Regions from separate parts of the Homo sapiens genome. Here regions 1 and 3 are each linked to region 2. The links are contacts of gene promoters, found by promoter capture Hi-C in blood cells and fetal thymus (Javierre and others, 2016). All regions are on one chromosome and are shown on one strand. Each heading gives the region's core, a stretch centred on a gene start or on the middle of the fragment in contact. The rest is flanking DNA. Distances are from core to core; before and after follow the strand shown. Region 1 has its middle 16 kb from the start of RPL22L1. Region 2 holds the start of SEC62 (SEC62 preprotein translocation factor). Region 3 overlaps EIF5A2 (eukaryotic translation initiation factor 5A2).

Region 1 (3,622 bases), core at 766-3,265, 890 kb after region 2:
TTAATCTCTTAATTTATAGAAAACAGGAAGCCTAAGGACAGGAAAGGATTCTTATAGCTGATGAGACCCAGACATTCCTGCTGGTAAGCTTAGTGCACTCCCTTAGTAGGTCCAATTCAAGATTATTTTTTTGTAGGTAAACTGTTTTGTTTTGTTTTCTCTTCCCTCTGGAAGCTTTTGGGATTTTCTTTTTATCCTTTGGAGTACTGAAACTTCTTCAGGAAGTTATGAGCTTTTCCCTTCATCCTACCTGGCCTACCTCGCAATATGAGGATCCAGATTTTCTTGGGCGGAGGGAAACTTTCTTCTGCTACTTGCATATCTGTCCTGGGTCACTTGTTTTAATTTGTTCATTCCAATCATTTTCTTTGATACTGTTGGTTCTACTCATTTTGAGTGAACCTTGGTTGCCTTTCTACATTTATGAATGAAAGGTAATGTTACTAATTATCTGACTTGGGATTCTTTTGTAGTTATATGGATTTGCTTACCCAGAAAGGCACACAGAGATAAATTTGACCTGGTTTTTAGCCTCGAAGTATTTACAGTCTAGTGAGGGAGGAAAACAAATAAACCAAAAATTCTGTCAAAGTGTCAGAATGTTTATGATATAGCTTAAACAAAAAGGCAGTGGTATTAGTTTGTGTACCAGGGAATTCCAAGGTGTGTACCTCCTCCAACTTCAATAGGCTGCCTCTGGCTTCTCTGGGGTTGGCCTTGAAATGAGCAGGGTCTGGGAGGCAAAAGGAAGGGACAGAAAAGGTCTGTCTCCACCACTACAGTTTGGTGATGTGGCTTTCTGGGCTTGAAGAAAGTTCAAGGCTTCTTCTTTCTCTTGAAGTATACATTTCTGGATTTCTCAAAGATTTATCACAGAGAATCTTTTGCTGCAACATTCGTGACATAAGCAATGCCATTTCTCAGGATCTTCACTCACTACCTGTAGCTCCTGAGCATGTGGTTGTCCCTTATACACAGACTCTTTCTGTTTGGGGTCCCACTTCTCTCCCAAGCAGTCCTCTTAGGTGAACAAGAACTCAACCCAAGCCTGGTCCTTCCCCGTGCACTACATCTGTGGACTACATCTGGTCCAGGGGAAGCACCTGTGCCTCCTTGTAGCTATGGAAATGTACCCCTCATTGCTCTCCCGTAGGCAAACTGCTCCAGCCACTGCCTTTGCCTTAGTTTTTCTCAAGGATGAGTCAAATGCCTAAAAGTCTTCAATTTCTCATGTGTCCTGGAAGTAGGAAATGAACTAAGTCTTAGAAAACTGGAGCTGGAGCACCTCCTTTGTAAGCTCTGCATAGATTTGGAATGTGGGAATATTTGGCACCTTAATTTTGTTCTCAGTTCTTGGAGTCTCAGCTGAAATAGGAGAGAAAAAGTCTCATTGGAAAAGTCTGTTTCATACCTCAATGAAAAGTACAGGGGTGATGAAATAAGGAATCTTCCATGCTGTTTCTTGAAGGCAGTAGGCCGTCTCCTGTGACTGGCCTTCTTACAATAAAACTGTGCGTCAGAGAGCCCTCTGTTAAGCCAGTTTGTGGTTCTCCAGAAGAGGAAAAAAGAAGCTTGGTTCTCTTCAAAAGCTAGATTATTCTTAGGCTTGGTTCTCCTAAGGAGCCAGCTGAATGTGCATCACTGTGAGAAAAGATTGCCTGGCAGGGAGAAATTTAGAAACATTTTTTTACACTAAAGCATTTACAGAGCATGAGCATTGAAGCCAGAGAGATCTGAATTTAAATTCCAATTTGGAACTTATTAGCTGTGTGGCCGTAGACCGACTGTTTAGCACTCTAAGCCCTTGGTTTTCTGATTTGTAAAAGGGGACTAATAACTAGCTTGAAGGGTAGCTGTGGAAATTAAATGAGATGTAGTATGTAAAGATTCCAAAACAGATGCCTTCGATGAGTAGTAGCCACTATCACCATTCCTCCTCAGCCTGGAATTCTCTCCCTCTTCTTCTCTGCCCCATCAATTCCCATTCTTCCTTAAAGAGAAGTCAGGGTAAGCCACCTCCTGCAGAAGGCCTTCTTGGATTCCTTTTCCCACTCATTATGGTATTGGTGCTTCTAAAGCATTTTGTAATATCTCTATTACTGCATGAACCACACTTACCTAAAGTCATTTGTACCCACATTTGCTCCCCTCGTTAGAACTGGGATTTCCTTGAGTGCAGAGAGTATATATAACTCACCCATCATCTCCCATGACTGCGACTGCCAAGGCAGAAATCATTGACCATATATTTGTGACATGTATGGAATCTGTAATTCACACCTCCCCATCTCAGAGAAAGAGGGAGAGAGGAGTTGCAGTGTTCCCTCCCTTGGGAGAAAACATATCTATTCCATCATAATTGAGATAGCAGATCATGATTCCCAGTTTGGCTCATTAACTCATAGGATTTTAGGACAGAAAAAAAAAGCCTTATCATGGGGGAAGTATGTTACTCTCAAGAAGCTTGTGTGTATCATGAGGTCAGGAGACCGAGACCATCCTGGCCAACCTGGTGAAACCCTATCTCTACTAAAATACAAAAAATTAGCCAGGTGTGGTGGTGTGGGCCTGTAATCCCAGCTACTCAGGAGGCTGAGGCAGGAGAATCGCTTGAACCTGGGAGGCGGAAGTTGCAGTGAGCCGAGATTGCGCCACTGCACCCCAGCCTGGCGACACAGCAAGACTCCGTCTCAAAAAAAAAAAAAAAAAAAAAAAAAAAAAGGTATATCCAATATTATGAGTTTATAGTGGGAAAATTATCCCAAAAATCTTACTTTGTTTTGTTTCAGAATAGAAAGCCCCAAAATACCTTGGTTGGTGGGGATATTTATGCATCAGTTATATCACAGGGTGGCAATTGGAACTGGGAACAAGGAACATGAGAAATATCTGTGTTTATCAAAAGGAAGCAGGTGTTACTAAAGCCCGAGAAATGCTGACCTATTTTTAACCACTTCTTTATATACAGAAGGGGAAACTGAGGCCCAGAGGGTGAAGAGATGTGTCCAAGGTCACAAAGCTAGTAGGCAACAGAGAGGCAGGATGTGTGACATGGCCCCGTGTGTGGGAGGAGCACTGGGTGAGGAGTGAGAGGTGGGTGCCATGGTGTGACCATGGGCAAGCCAGTAAACCTGAGACCTGGTTTTTTCATCTGAAAAATGGGAAGATAATATTGTGCCACAGAGGGCTGTTAAGGGATCAAAAGAAAAGAGAAAGCCATTTGTAAATGCAACACATTGTTTAAAACTGGCCTTCCTGGCATTTTAATCATCCAGCTTGTAAAAGAGCACACACTGAAGCTATATATCTAGACTCCAGTCCCTTCAGCATGACCACATACAAGGGTTTCCAGACAGTAAGTAGGAAAACCTATGCTAAGCAAAACTTCCTGGGAACTTTTTCATCAGGGGTAATGGTATAGGTGGGTAGTCACATGGGAAAAAGGTATAATTGGATCCACTTCTCAAATTGTAAACCAGGATAAATTCCAAATAGAATAGAGACCTACATTTTTTTAAGATGAAAATATGTAAGTACTAGCAGAAAACATAAATGAATTCTTGATAACGGGGAAAGCTTTTCTAACCATGGCAATAAGAAAAAAGTTAATTGATTTAATTAC
Region 2 (3,966 bases), core at 718-3,217:
CAAATTGTTGTAATCTAAGGAGTGAATGACAGAACAAGAGGACACTAAATTAAAGCTCTGCTGATGAAGAAAATAGTAAGGCAGTAACTTGAGGATGAGTCATTGTCTATAAAGGATTTTTATTCCCCACCATAGTCCTAACCTAACATTTGACATCTATCTAGTAGGCACTCAATACCTACTGAATGCAATAATATTTTCATTTATAGACCAGGTCTCCTATAAAATAGTCCAGTGTTTATGTCCACATAAAACAGCACAAAACAGATTCATCATTCTGGGTGGGTAGAGGGATTGAAGGAAATAAAGACATTTCATATTCTATATTATGTTTTGGGTTAATTGGCAAGAATAATTACTTCTTTCTCACCCCATCCCTGACTATACACACACCCAAATTATAGATTATAGAGGAGAAAGGAATTAAATGACTCCTGAGACCAGAACTGCATAGTCCAAAAAAAAAAAAAAAATTCAGCAATCTTACTTTATTAAAAAATTAGGCATCAAGATGCTGCAATTTGCCTTACTTACATATTTAATTGCTCTTAGGTTAGATATATAATATGGGAAACCTGGAAAAAAATTTTAATGGTATAATAAACGCTTACAACCTAACATTAAGTGAAAAAAGCAGCTGCCTTATTGCATATGATCTCAATTTGGGAAACAGGAAAAAATATAAATACAAACACACATGCACACACACACACAAAGTCAGAATACTATAAGAAAATAAACTGAACGGTCACAGTGGCTCACGCCTGTAGTTCCAGTTACTCAGGAGACAGAGACAGGTGGATCGTTTTGAGCCCAGGAGTTCAAGACCCGCCCGGGCAACATAAGGAAACTCCATCTCCACACAAAAAAAGTAAAAATTAGCCAGGTGTGGTGGCTCATGCCTGTAGTTCCAGCTACTCAGGAGGCTGAGGAGGGAGATCAGTTGAGACGAGGAGTTCGGTGATGCAGTGAGCCGAGACTGCGCCACTGCACTCCAGCTTGGGCAATATAGAGCGAAACTCAGCATCAAAAAAAAAAGAACATCTTTCTATTCTGAATTTTCCCAATTTTCTACAATTAAAAACGCTTTAAAGATCTCTATAAAGTCAGTCAAGGGAATTTCTATCTAAGCACTTACCAGCAATTTGAGCTCCTTCTCTTTTGGTCTAGGTGGCTCTAAAATAACAATAAAGGCTACAGTGATTGAAATTCACCAGACTTGAAATAGACTGCAGCCTTCTTCCTTCCCACCTTCTTAGAATCTTTGTCCTATTCATCTTCCTTACGCTTCCCCGGGTTCTCTTACTTCTGGATTCTAACAGTGAGTTGTGAGAAGCAACGCGGAAAACGGAATGGAGACTCCAGCTTGTTTTAAACGAGCTGTATTACCCCGCACAGTGCAGGAGAAAAGATAATTGGCTCAGGTCTCGGCTCTGCCATCTACCACCTGTGGAGCCTTAGATAAGTCAGTTCTTATCTCTGTCACTCAACGGTCTCGGTCTTGTCATCTTTTACATGGAATGTCATGAAATATACAGTACATTGCAGGAACTGCCTCAGGTAAAGACTTCTAGGGTTCAGTAGGTCTCAGTCGATCCCTCTGAGAAAGGCCGCACCCTAAATGCACAGACTCTGACTCTAAGGGGATGGGGTCGGGGAATCTGCATTTTAGTAGCTTCTCAGGTGATTCAGATGCTCAGTCAGGATTGAGAAACCAGGACTCTTCCCAGCCCTCCTGTTCTCTGATCCACTTCTCTGCTTCCTCCACGTCCTAACGATTCTCCAGTTCCCGCACAGCAGGAGCGGAGGGAAGAGGGGAGAGAAGGCACCGCTAAGGACCGCTGGCCCCGCCAGGCGGCCGACCTCCCCATTCCAGGGGCGCCAGCCGGCGGATTACATAACGGGCCTCGGGGCGCGTTCTCGCGAGGTTTCCACCGCCCCCTCCTCGCTCCACGTCAGAGGGAACCGGGCGGAGCGGCCAACATGGCGGAACGCAGGAGACACAAGAAGCGGATCCAGGTAGCAAAGCCGAGCTCTGGGCAGGGGGCTTCGGCGCGCTGGATAGTGGAAGGGGCGGGGAAAGCCCCCTAAAAGGGCGAGCGAAAGCAAGGGCGAGGTGGGGTGGGGTGGGGTGGGGTTCCGCCGCGAGGCAGCTGGCTGCAGGCTGCGCGTTGTGAGGGGCCTGAGGGGGGGCGGTGTTGGCGACGGCGGAGACAGAGACGGAGGTGGTGGTGGAGCAGCAGGGGAAGGAAGGAGGCGCCGCGCTCAGAATCCGGCTGCGGAGGCGCGGCTGTGGGCCTGGAGTTCCTGTGGTCGCGCTGTCCCGGGCCTGAGCTGGAAGGTCAGCCTCCCCTGGGGCGCAGACGCTGACCCTTCCCGGGGCTCCTCCCCTCCCTTCACCCCATCCTCTGGCCTTAGCTGGCCTGAAATTAAGGCCACGGTAATAGGGGTAGCAGGAGGCGGCGGACTGACCTAAAGCAGCTGGTTCTTTGTGCGCATAGACCGTAAGGGGGAATGATCTGGACTTGGTCAGCTGCCTCGGGGCCTAGGCAGGGATCTGCTCATCCAGATGTTCAGTTGCGTTGCCCTTCTTTCCCTTCAATATTATTAACTTAATAGTCCACTTGAAGCTTGCCGGCTTTTTTCCGGGCGACGTGGTGTAAACAACCACAACCTCGTTGGTGCTGCAACGAGCTGGTGGAGCCCAGAAACCTTTCACATGCCAGTGTGTCATCCTCGTAGTAACGTACATAACATCTCCCCCTAATTCCACATGCGTGTCATTTGTGCATTTCTTCCTTGCGATTTTCCCTGGTTCTTGTTCTTTGCCAAGAGGATTAATTATGTAGAACATCTTGGACTCAGGATATTTATTAGTCGTCTCATCAGCTGATGTGCTGAGAAACCTTCATAAGCCCTCAAATTGATCACATGTAGTAAATTGTTACTATAATCATAAATTGTTACATTCATCATTGCCTTTCTGTTCCTTACTATTTCATTGCTTAGAATGATTTTTTCTTTCTTCCATTTTATCCCTTCTTTTTTTTTTTAAGTTTATCGATTTATTGGCGTACAATACAGATGTTTTGAGCTATGCAAGTTAAAATTCTTCTGTAAACTTTTTAAGTGCTGTGAAAAAGACACACATGATCAGTAAATTTGGAATTTTGGAATTTGGCAGAAATAAAGTAGTTCCGAACAGGGTGCAGAAGGGAATTAGAAAGAGGCAGATTTCGAGTTCAGACAGATAAGACTAGGTCTTAAGATCAGTAGAAGTTTCTAATTATACTGTTCTTAATCTTTCAAGAGTTAGTGTTATTCCTCTGACGTGGGTATACAGTATTTTATTAGATTGTATATTGAAATTGTCTGTCAGATTTGTACTTACAGAACTCCTTAGATTTACACTTGACAGTACAATTTTATGCCCTTCAATACACATTGTTTTACAATTCCAGTTGCTCTTTAATATTGTTGTAAGGGCTATATAATTCACCTTTTGAATAGCTGCTCTTATTTAGTTGTGATCTTATATTAAACAGAGGCTGTGGAGTAATGTGACAGTGGCAGAGAGCTAAAACTTGAGCCAAACTGCCTGTTTGTACCCCACCTCCACCAATTATTGGCTGAGTAACTTTGAGCAAGTTAATTTTTACCTCCCTGTCTGCATCGGTAAGAAAACATATTTACCTCAAAAAAAAAAAAAGCAAGAAAAAAGAAAAACTTTAAGATTGCTGTGAAAATAATAGGTGAGTCAACTTATTTATTAAAAGTTATTAAAAGTGTTTGGCACGCAGCCCCTCCCTTCTATTCTACTCCTTACCCAGGATGAAGGATTTAGATTGGATTGTTATTTTATTTTTTGTTAACTACTCTTTGATATGCTGAAGAAAGATTAACAACCCTCTATTCAGTAAACTATTAGGTTGGGAGTTATGTAGAGTATAGCTGTTTACTTTCTAT
Region 3 (3,746 bases), core at 588-3,087, 940 kb after region 2:
AAATATGATTCCAGAGAGTGCTAAAGTCTGAATAAGCATTTCTGTATGAATTTGGGGATTCCCAAAGGTCTATCTGGATGCATTTATAATTTTCAACATCACTCAGTCCCGGACATCTATAACTACTTTTGGGAGAAGTAATGTAAATGAGCAATTCTAATCCAAGCTAATCTTGAAAGAGAAGTTAGGAGACAATTTTTCTTTCATTCTGAACTTATTTTAAAACACATAAAATTAAAACTATAAATATTAATACGTTTTGTTTCCTGTTTACTTTTTAATTATCATAATGAACAGAATACATATTTCTCTTTAGCCAACTGCCGAACTGGCACTCAAAATATTGAATTCAGCAAACATAAAGGATTACACACGCCAAATAATGAGTAGATATTTAATCAAGGCACTTGGTTAGGTAAGTGAAGACCACCATAGCACAATAAATATAAATAGAAAGGCCCACAGAACTTTTGTTTTTGAGACAGGGTCCCACTCTGTCGCCCAGGCTAGAGTGCAGTGGAGTGATCACAGCTTAGTGCAGCCTTGACCTCCCAAGGCTCAAGTGATCCTCCCACCTCAGCCTCTGGGTCTGCTGGGACTACAGCTGTGTACACCACCATGCCTCGCTAATTTTTTTTTTTCTGTATTTTGTAAAGATGGCGTCTCACCACATTGCCCAGGTTGGAGAACTAGTTTTTTAAACAATTAACAGAAATAAGTTATTTTTCTATGCTGACTTGAAAATGAAGAGCAGAGAAATACTGAATACTTTCTATGCCAGGCGTTGTTGTATTAACTAATTAAACCTCAAAATGATCCCATGAGGCGTTATTATTTATGTCTCTGCTTTATAAAGAAAGAAATGGAAGCAAAACAGGTTAAGTAACTTGTCAACCAAGGTCACACAGCTATTAAGTGCCAAAGTAAGACTAGGACCAGGCCTGCCTGGCTTAAATCATCCTCTTATCCACTTTGCAGTGCGGAGTACATACCAAGGGTTGGGACAAGGGTGAAGTAAGACACTTGTCTTGGGTGCAAAATTAAAGAAGGCACCAAAAAAACCTCAGTGATCAGATAGGCATTTTAATGCAATATTTTAAAAAATTAGAATTAATGCAAAAATCCTATGATAAAATACCAAAATTCTAAATAAAGATGGGATCAGAATTAATTTTCTTTGCGCCTTGAGCTCCTATATGGCTTGTCATTGTTACTAGTTCTGTCTTTATTTAAAATTTTGTGCCTGAGGCAAGAGCCTCCCTCACTTCATTTGCCTCATCCTAGTCTAGGACCCAAACCAAATTTTTCCTTTAAGTCTTGAGCTCCAATCAATGACTGGCTAACCTTATCATAGTATAATAGTAATTATCTGAACTGCTGATACCATCTTTCTGAAACATGCAACAGGCAAAAGCATTCTATATTGAATGAATATTACTGAATATAATTAATATTGAATAGTCAAAGCTTTCATACTTTAAGACGAAAAGAGAAACCCAATTTTGACAACATTCTACGCTCAACTTTAGCCTGCTGTACTATCTCTACCACATTCAGTAATCACATATACATTTAACAAATATTTTTCGAGCACCTACTATGTACCACATCAAAGTTGGTGCTCCAACAATAATGAAATGATTAAGTAGAATTTTTACATAGGAAAAGGGGGAAACAGAACAGCACTTTTTGGTACGTATCTACTTATGGAGTTCTTAATGGGGTACATTTTCTCATTTAATCCTCCTATTATCACTATTTTGTAGATGAGAAAACAGGCTCAGAAAGGTGTATAACTTGTCCAAAATCATCCAACTAGAAAGTGACAGAACTAGATCCAAACCCAGATCTACCTGGTTAAAAAAACCCACTTGCAAGACAATTCAAATTTCTACAAAGACTTCAAAGCAACCTAGAAAACATTTATGACAAGTAGGAAAGTGAAAATATAAAAGTGTTTACTAGATTAAAACCACAAAAAAGTATGTTTGCATGTGGACAAACAGCAAAAGGAAATCATTGCGTAAGTGCAGTTGATAGCAACATTAAAAGAAATTTATACAATACAACAAAGGGTACAGAAAAAAATCAGTTTAAGTCGGATAAAACAAATACCAGTGTCAACTTTGTATTTTTCACTATGTAAAATGAGCAGAAATGAGTTTGATATATGGTATGCTTGATACAGAAATTGAAGACTTTCAAGAAAAGCTTTAGTTATAAGTAATCTGAGCTTCCACATCCTATAAGGTCAATTATTTTGTTATCATCAATACTTCAAACAACAAAATGCTATCATTAAATATGACCTACCCAAATGTATAACTGGAACTAAAACTTGAAATTTACATACATAATTTAGCAAAAGGTCATAGCATGGTCACTAAGTATAATTTAACCAATTATATAGTTTTTGTGTTTTCTTCACCATACTCAGTGACCAGGTACTTTATCCTTTATATTTATGGCTTTCAACTTATTTCTCTACTTAAGAATGTCAAGTTCTGACTAACATTCATTAATGCAAAAACTTGGTAGGAACATGAATTTCAGTAGTTTCTTGAATGTCTCAGGTCTGATCAGTGAAAAGAAACAAAACATCCAGGAGGGATGTTTTAAATTAGAACAAGAAATATTTTACAACAGAGAGAATAGTACTTTTACTAAACATTGGACTTAATTGCAATATGCAGTCACTTGGCCTGAGAACACTAATAAGTATTTGACTTTTTAAAAAATGCAAGAATGTGAAAAAAATAGCAAACTAGCAATAATCCTAGAAAAGTACATGTGTTAAACATCACTATTTCTCCAATTTCTAAGATAGCTGGTGCCTAATAATTGGTTAGAAAAACCTACAAAACTACTCTTGGGTTTTGTCAAATTATTACTGATAGTACAAAGTATTTGCACCTTGAAGAAACAAGCAACATTCTAAAGAAAATCAGTGCTTACTTGATAATCATTTCTCTTAATATTTGGAACATCCATGTTGTGAGTAGAAGGACAAATATCTTCATATTTTTTGCCCGTGAAAATATCAATTCCAACAAGGTGAACCTAACAGAGGAGAACAGGAAACCTGTTTAATCTCTGCCAAGTATATCACTCATTACACACACAAGAGCACAATACCAATGCTGATTACAACAGATTCTTTTTCTCCTCCTTCCAAGGTCATCTAATTTTACTTAAAAAAAAATGTAGTGGTCTTACAATTAAGAGGCAGTAAACAACTAAACAGTATCACGACATGTCAAGACCCAATATAGACCAGTGATTCAATTATGAGATTACACAAGAAAAATAAAGTGTAGATTTCTTAGAATTGCTAGAACAGGTTTTCTCATCTGTAAACTAAATAGATCTTATAGGTCACTAGGATTCAGGAAAGTTTCAGTTCCCAGTTAATGAACATTGTAAGGGCCCAAGAAGGGAATGCTACCTTTAAGTATTCAACGTAATAACTGATTACCCAGTAATTGTGGGAAGGAAAAAATAGTGCTTATTACAAAATTTTAAGTATAGAAATCTCATGATCTGTAACGGAATACAAATGATCAAAGTCCCAACGCCGAAGCCAAAGCCTGATCTGCAAGGGTACTTACCTTGGCATGACCATGCTTTCCAGTTTTGGAAGTTGACATCTCCACTATTTTGCATGGTCGTCCTTTGAGCACCACGAAGCCGTTTTTGCGCAAGGCCGAGCACTGCATAGGGTAAGTGCTGGAAGCCCCGGCATCTCC

Evidence for each region. The method cuts DNA at HindIII sites, captures the fragments that hold promoters and counts their contacts. A CHiCAGO score of 5 or more calls a contact.
Region 1: a contact is called between a fragment that was not itself captured here and the fragment with the promoter of SEC62 in region 2, in 1 of 17 cell types (total B cells). The highest score is 5.5, in total B cells.
Region 3: a contact is called between a fragment that was not itself captured here and the fragment with the promoter of SEC62 in region 2, in 6 of 17 cell types (naive B cells, non-activated CD4 T cells, total B cells and 3 more). The highest score is 6.3, in naive B cells.

What each region holds. Positions count from the first base shown.
Region 1 is chr3:170,852,809-170,856,430 of GRCh38, forward strand. No RefSeq gene overlaps it. Among named protein-coding and RNA genes, the nearest start is that of RPL22L1, 16 kb to the right of the region's middle. The HindIII fragment of the contact is 892 bases long and covers 1,570-2,461 here.
Region 2 is chr3:169,964,840-169,968,805 of GRCh38, forward strand. SEC62 (SEC62 preprotein translocation factor) reads left to right here and starts at 1,968. Exons shown (of 8, transcript NM_003262.4): 1 at 1,968-2,019. The coding sequence starts at 1,984. It also overlaps the pseudogene FHL1P1. RefSeq lists enhancers at 1,647-2,086, 3,643-3,966. The HindIII fragment of the contact is 8,040 bases long and covers 1-2,628 here.
Region 3 is chr3:170,904,034-170,907,779 of GRCh38, forward strand. It overlaps EIF5A2 (eukaryotic translation initiation factor 5A2), which reads right to left. Exons shown (of 5, transcript NM_020390.6): 2 at 3,609-3,746; 3 at 2,956-3,060. Among named protein-coding and RNA genes, the nearest start is that of EIF5A2, 2.7 kb to the right of the region's middle. The HindIII fragment of the contact is 744 bases long and covers 1,466-2,209 here.